Regions from separate parts of the Homo sapiens genome. Here region 2 is linked to region 1. The links are contacts of gene promoters, found by promoter capture Hi-C in blood cells and fetal thymus (Javierre and others, 2016). All regions are on one chromosome and are shown on one strand. Each heading gives the region's core, a stretch centred on a gene start or on the middle of the fragment in contact. The rest is flanking DNA. Distances are from core to core; before and after follow the strand shown.

What was found. Contacts are between HindIII fragments. The CHiCAGO score rates a contact against its expected background, and 5 or more counts as called.
Region 2: a contact is called between a fragment that was not itself captured here and the fragment with the promoter of ACE2 in region 1, in 1 of 17 cell types (naive B cells). The highest score is 5.5, in naive B cells.

Annotation. Positions count from the first base shown.
Region 1 is chrX:15,599,259-15,602,209 of GRCh38, reverse strand. ACE2 (angiotensin converting enzyme 2) reads left to right here and starts at 1,250. Exons shown (of 18, transcript NM_001371415.1): 1 at 1,250-1,484. The coding sequence starts at 1,299. RefSeq lists cis regulatory regions at 775-779, 763-798, 959-964, 980-985, 1,012-1,017 and 5 more, promoters at 993-1,298, 944-1,298, 845-1,298, 81-1,298, 1,118-1,299 and 2 more and an enhancer at 1,426-2,625. The HindIII fragment of the contact is 4,764 bases long and covers 1-2,302 here.
Region 2 is chrX:16,444,405-16,447,355 of GRCh38, reverse strand. All of the region lies in intron 1 of LOC124905249 (a long non-coding RNA gene), which reads left to right. Among named protein-coding and RNA genes, the nearest start is that of MIR548AM, 180 kb to the left of the region's middle. RefSeq lists enhancers at 1-284, 285-810, 1,880-2,079. The HindIII fragment of the contact is 2,987 bases long and covers 1-2,862 here.

The DNA.
Region 1 (2,951 bases), core at 1-2,500:
CAGGTAGGCCCTTGAACCCTGCCATTTAAAGTGCTCCTCTCTTTGATCTGTGGCACTCATACATACACTCTGGCAATGAGGACACTGAGCTCGCTTCTGAAATTTGACAAGATAACCACTAAAATCTCTTTGAATTCTATGTTGTTGTGATCCCATGGCTACAGAGGATCAGGAGTTGACATAGATACTCTTTGGATTTCATACCATGTGGAGGCTTTCTTACTTCCACGTGACCTTGACTGAGTTTTGAATAGGTAAGTGAAGGAGAAGGAGGCACTCAAAGAAGTCAGCCACAGAACCAGTGTGAGAAATAGGAAATGAGCTTTTTTAAGTTTTGCAAAGGCAGATCAGGAGAGTTGACCTGTGGAGTGGAGAGTAGTCATAATTTTAAAAAATGGCCATGGAAATTAAAACTGATCAGAAATGGCTGGGCACAGTGGCTCACGCCTGTAATCCTAGCACTTTGGGAGGCCGAGTTGGGCAGATCACAAGGTCAGGAGATAGAGACCGTCCTGACTAACACGGTGAAACCCCGTCTCTATTAAAAATACAAAAACTTAGCTGGGCGTGGTGGTGGGCACCTGTAGTCCCAGCTACTCGGGAGGCTGAGGCAGGAGAATGGCGTGAACCTGGGAGGCAGAGCTTGCAGTGAGCCGAGATCGCGCCACTGTGCTCCAGCCTGGGCGACAGACCGAGACTCAGTCTCAAAAAAAAAAAAAAAAAAAAAACTGATCAGAAATATGAATTCCATAAAGACAAGGGCAAAGTCATGTATTTGGAAGGGAAAATGTTGCCCAAGTAGAGAGTTTCTGGGAATATGATCTTGAAATAAAAATAAATGTGAGATAACCTATTAATGAAATTGTCTGAAAACCATACAAACACCAACATTATCTTCATGATCCCTAGTTCTAGACCTCTTTGGTCACTGTAAAATTATAACATTTTCCGTGTATCTTTAACAGCTTTCTAGGAAAATATTAACCAAAAGTACCGGTTTTGATTTGGCCATAAAGTGACAGGAGAGGTAAGGTTCTCTAGGATTAAAGAATAACGTATTCTTATTTGATTCACTTTAAAAAATTATTCTAAAATCTGTTACATATCTGTCCTCTCCAGGATGAACTTTATATTGGCTCAGCAGATTGTTTACTGTGTTCTTCTTCTTTTTCTTTTTTTGGTCTTTCCTGCTCAGCGCCCAACCCAAGTTCAAAGGCTGATAAGAGAGAAAATCTCATGAGGAGGTTTTAGTCTAGGGAAAGTCATTCAGTGGATGTGATCTTGGCTCACAGGGGACGATGTCAAGCTCTTCCTGGCTCCTTCTCAGCCTTGTTGCTGTAACTGCTGCTCAGTCCACCATTGAGGAACAGGCCAAGACATTTTTGGACAAGTTTAACCACGAAGCCGAAGACCTGTTCTATCAAAGTTCACTTGCTTCTTGGAATTATAACACCAATATTACTGAAGAGAATGTCCAAAACATGGTGAGTTCTCATGGCTCTATTGGGCTATTTGTTGCCTCTTAAAGATTAGATTACTGCCCGTGAAACTGAAAAGGGAAATCAAAAAAAATGCTCTGAGTTGTGAGATTGGATGTTTGCCTCCATATCCCTGATTTTGGAGTCCCAGATAACTAAACTTAATTGACCCTGGGGTTCATTCAGAAAATTGTTACAAAATAATTCACTGGTCTCAATCCAGATGCTTGGAAACAAGAGAATATTCTTTATAAAGTTACCACCATAATTCTCATCACAGTCAGGATTTCAAAGCATTTCATGGAAATGCCATAAGTTATTGAGTTAATAATTTCCTTTAGCCTACAATATCAATAGGAATATCTAAAGATTCTCTACAAATGATATATTAACTGAAAAATGCAACTGGAGGCTTAGTGAAAGAACTAGTAATTAAGCTAATCAGGGCTTGGGTGAGGCTGGACTTGGGAATTCCTTTCCTCTTTGTCACAGACCTCCAAGGGACTCCAAAAGGTCACAGAATCCAGGCAGAGCCCTCCAAAACAAAAACAAAAACAAACAACAAAAAAACTATGATTAAACCAGTTCTGACAAATATCAGAATGCTCTGGGAAAGCCAGATGCTTTAACAAGTGCAAGGATTTAGGAATTTCTTCTCTCACAGATCCCAAAACAGTATCCTTAAGTGGTGATCCTTATGTCAAGCTGTGAGAATATACCTCAAAATAATAGAAGGCATCCAAACTTGATCAGTATAGTGTCATAAAGCTGCTGATGTAGAAGTGTGGAGAAGTCCATCAGATAGAGATATGGAAAAAAAAGCTTGGTTAAAACAGGTTTCCAAAGTTCTCTCCCTTTCTCTGCCATTGTGGTATGTGTGGTTGACCATTTCTCATCATGTTTTCTTACAAGACTTTCAGGATCAAGCAATTCCTCGCCAAAAAACAAAATCAAGGACACGTTGTAGCTATTTCTTGGTGAGTTACCAGAAGCTGTGAAGAGAGAGCATGAGGCCCATACTTTTTTTTTTTTTTGAAGGGTCTCGCTCTGTTGCCCAGGCTGGAATGGAGTGGCATGATCATGATTCATTGCAGCTTGACCTCCTGGGCTCAAATGATCCTCTCGCATCATTTAACATTTTTTTTTGTAGAGATGAGATCTCACTTTGTCTCCCAGGCTGGTCTTGAACTCCTGGGCTCAAGTGATCCTCTTGCCTCAGGCTCCCAAAGTGCTGGGATGACAGGCATGAGCCACTGCACCTAGCCTACCACACTTACTCTTTGCGTGGTCTCTAGAGCTTCTTCAGCCCCCCTGCTGCCAGGGTCCCTAGGGTCTTGGGCATGCCCCATTTCTGAACCTATTCCTGTCTCCAGGGATAGAGTCACAGTGAACTCAGACCAGGGTAATTCTAAACTGCTATTCTGTATATACCCAAGGAAATTTCATCCCTGTCTCTAATGAGTCTGTCCCATG
Region 2 (2,951 bases), core at 120-2,619, 850 kb before region 1:
TTATTTTGTTAAAACCGGATGCCTGTCATTTATTCCTTGCAACTGTAAACCAAAAAGGAACTGAGACAAGTCTCAATCAATGTAGAAGTTTATTTTGAGGGCCGGGTGCGGTGGCTCACGCCTGTAATCCTAGCACTTTGGGAGGCTGAGGTGGGTGGATTGCTTGACCTCAGGAGTTTGAGACCAACCTGGGCAACATGGTGAAACCCCGTCTCTACTAAAATACAAAAAATTAGCCGGGTGTGATGGCACACGCCTTAATCCCAGCTACTAGGGAGGGTGAAACAGGGGAATCACTTGAACCTGGGAGGCAGAGGTTGCAGTGAGCTGAGATCGCGCCATTGCACTGCAGCCTGGGAGACAGAGCGAGACTCCGTCTCAAAAAAAAAAAAGAAGTTTATTTTGAGAAGGTTAAGGACGTACTCATGACACAGCCTCAGGAGGTCCTGAGAACATGTGCCCAAGGTGGTTGGGCCACAGCTTGGTTTTATACATTTTAGGGAGACATAAGATATCAATCAGTACATGTAAGGTGTACATTGGTTTGGTCTGGAAAGGTGGGACAACTGGAAGTGGGGGCTTCTAGGTCAGAGGTGAATTCAAAGATTTTCCAATTGGCAATTGGTTGAAAGACTTCTTCTAAAGGCCTGGAATCTATGGGAGGGAGTGTCTGGGCTAAGATAAGGGGTTGTGGAGACCAAGGTTCTTATTATGCAGATGAAGCCTTTAGGTAGCAGGCTTCAGAGAAAATAGATTGTAAATATTTCTTATTAGACTTAAAAAGGTGCCAGACTATTAGTTAATTCTCTCCTGGATCAGGACGAAGACCTGGAAAAGTAAAGGGATTCTTTCCAGAATGTAGATTTTCCCCACAAGAGACAGCATTGCAGGGCCATTTCAAAATATGTCAAAAAATATATTTTAGGGTAAAATACTTCAATTTCTTTCAGGGCCTGCTATCTGTCAAGTGATGCTATAATAGAGTCAGGCTGGAATTCGGTGTCTTATTGCTACAAAGTCTTAAGATGTCTATTGTAATGTGAATGCTGGTCAGTTGTGCCTGAATTCCAAAGCAAGGCGGGTATAAGGAGGCATGTCCAACTATGCCCCCCACTGCCCCCCAACCCCGCCAGCCCCGGCATCCCATCATTGCCTGAACTAGTTTTTCAGGTTCTTTGGAATGTCCTTGGCTGAGAGAAGGGGTCCTTTCAGATGGTTGGGGGGCTTAGAATTTTTTTTTTAGTTTACACAACTAATATAAATTTTATCAAAGGTTTCTGATGGTTCACACAGAAGTCCCACGGTGCAATTCTCCACTGGAAGACATTTTTATTTCCTAGGGCTATTAGTTGGCTTACAATAAAAACTTTAAAGCACTTTTCTTTCCTGAGAAAATTGCTCTCTGAATCAATGGGATTGAGCATAGATAATGGAAAGAGACAGTAAGATGTTCTTGCCTGTAACCAAGCTCCTGTTTAGCGCTTAGTTTGTCTGTCCAACCTGGAGAATCATGGGATGCCCCAGGAATTGTTCCTGAGATTTAAGTTTCACATTGAGACTTTAGGGTTGTTTCCTACAGATTGACTCTTCCCAGAGTGGGTGATCCATCCATGGAACAACCTTGGGTGGGCCTGTGGGTGCATCCTTAAAACAAATGAGGGCTCACTCTGAATATAAGGCAAGATCTTTCAACTGTGGCACTATTGACATTTTGGACTGGACAATTTTGTGTTATGGGAGTGTCCTGTGCAATGTAGGATGTTTGGCAGCATCCCCGGCCTCTACCCACTAGATGCCAGCCTCCACCCCTAAGCTGTGACATCCAAAAATGTCTCCAGACACTGCCAAATGTCCACTGCAGGAAAATATCACGCCCTGTTGAAAACCACTGATCCAAAGCACCCGCAATTATTTATTCTGGTACAGTTGTAGAAGGCCTCGAACACTTTTCTTCAAAGGGCTGTACAGCCTTAAGAAACCACTAGAGGGCGAGCAGGGCTGCTAATTTGAGCTGCTTCATAAAGGTGTCACTGCAGGACTTGGCAGAAGCAGGGGGCCAAGGGACTCCCCTTGGGAGCTTGATGGAACCACTGAGAAGAGCAAGTCCTGCCATCCTAAGAGCATTAGGGAAGCAGCCACCAGTAAGAACGCACCCCTCACCCCAGGAGCTGAGAAGACCATGGTTATGAGGTGACTGTCAAGTGATGGGCTCCATCACCCAGGGTGAGGTAACCCTCTGTGAGGAGGGGTCAGCCAGCCTCTTCTGTCTCCTTGATGTGGTGTACTTAGTGTAGAGAGGAAAGAGATTATTGGTCTTATCTCGATTTTTCATGAAGGGGAGATAGCATTCAGTTCAATAAGTATTTATTTCATGTCTACTATTTATAAGGTTCTGTGTTTGATTATGGGGATATTGGTAGATTGCATAAATGGCCACAAATTATTTACCTGTCTGTATCCATGCCTTTGGGCAGTCCCCTCCCACATTGACTCTGGGCATAGCCATTTGATTTGCTTTGGCCAATGGGTCAATAGCAAATGTGATGCAAGCAGAGACCTGAAAGCTCTTGCTCACTGGGGCATATCCACTCTTGAGGCTCTTGGGACCCTGCCGCTGCTGTCGTGTGAGGAAGCCCAAGCTAGCCTGCTGAATGATGAGAGATCCGTGACCCCAGGGGCTCCTATTACCTCAGCTGACAGCCAGCCAACTTCCAGAAGCTGAGACACCTAGTTGACCAGCAGCCAACTGGCACGGCTTAACTCAGTATAGCAGAAGACCAGCAAAAGAAAGGCCCAGCCCAAATTGCCAACCCACAGAATTGCGAGTCACGTAGTTGGCTGTAGTTTTTAGGTCACTAAGCTTAGGGTGGACTGTTACGCAGCAAAAGCTAATGAAAACACAGATGGATGAGACATAGTTCTTGCCTTCAGGACTCCACAGCCTAAGAGAC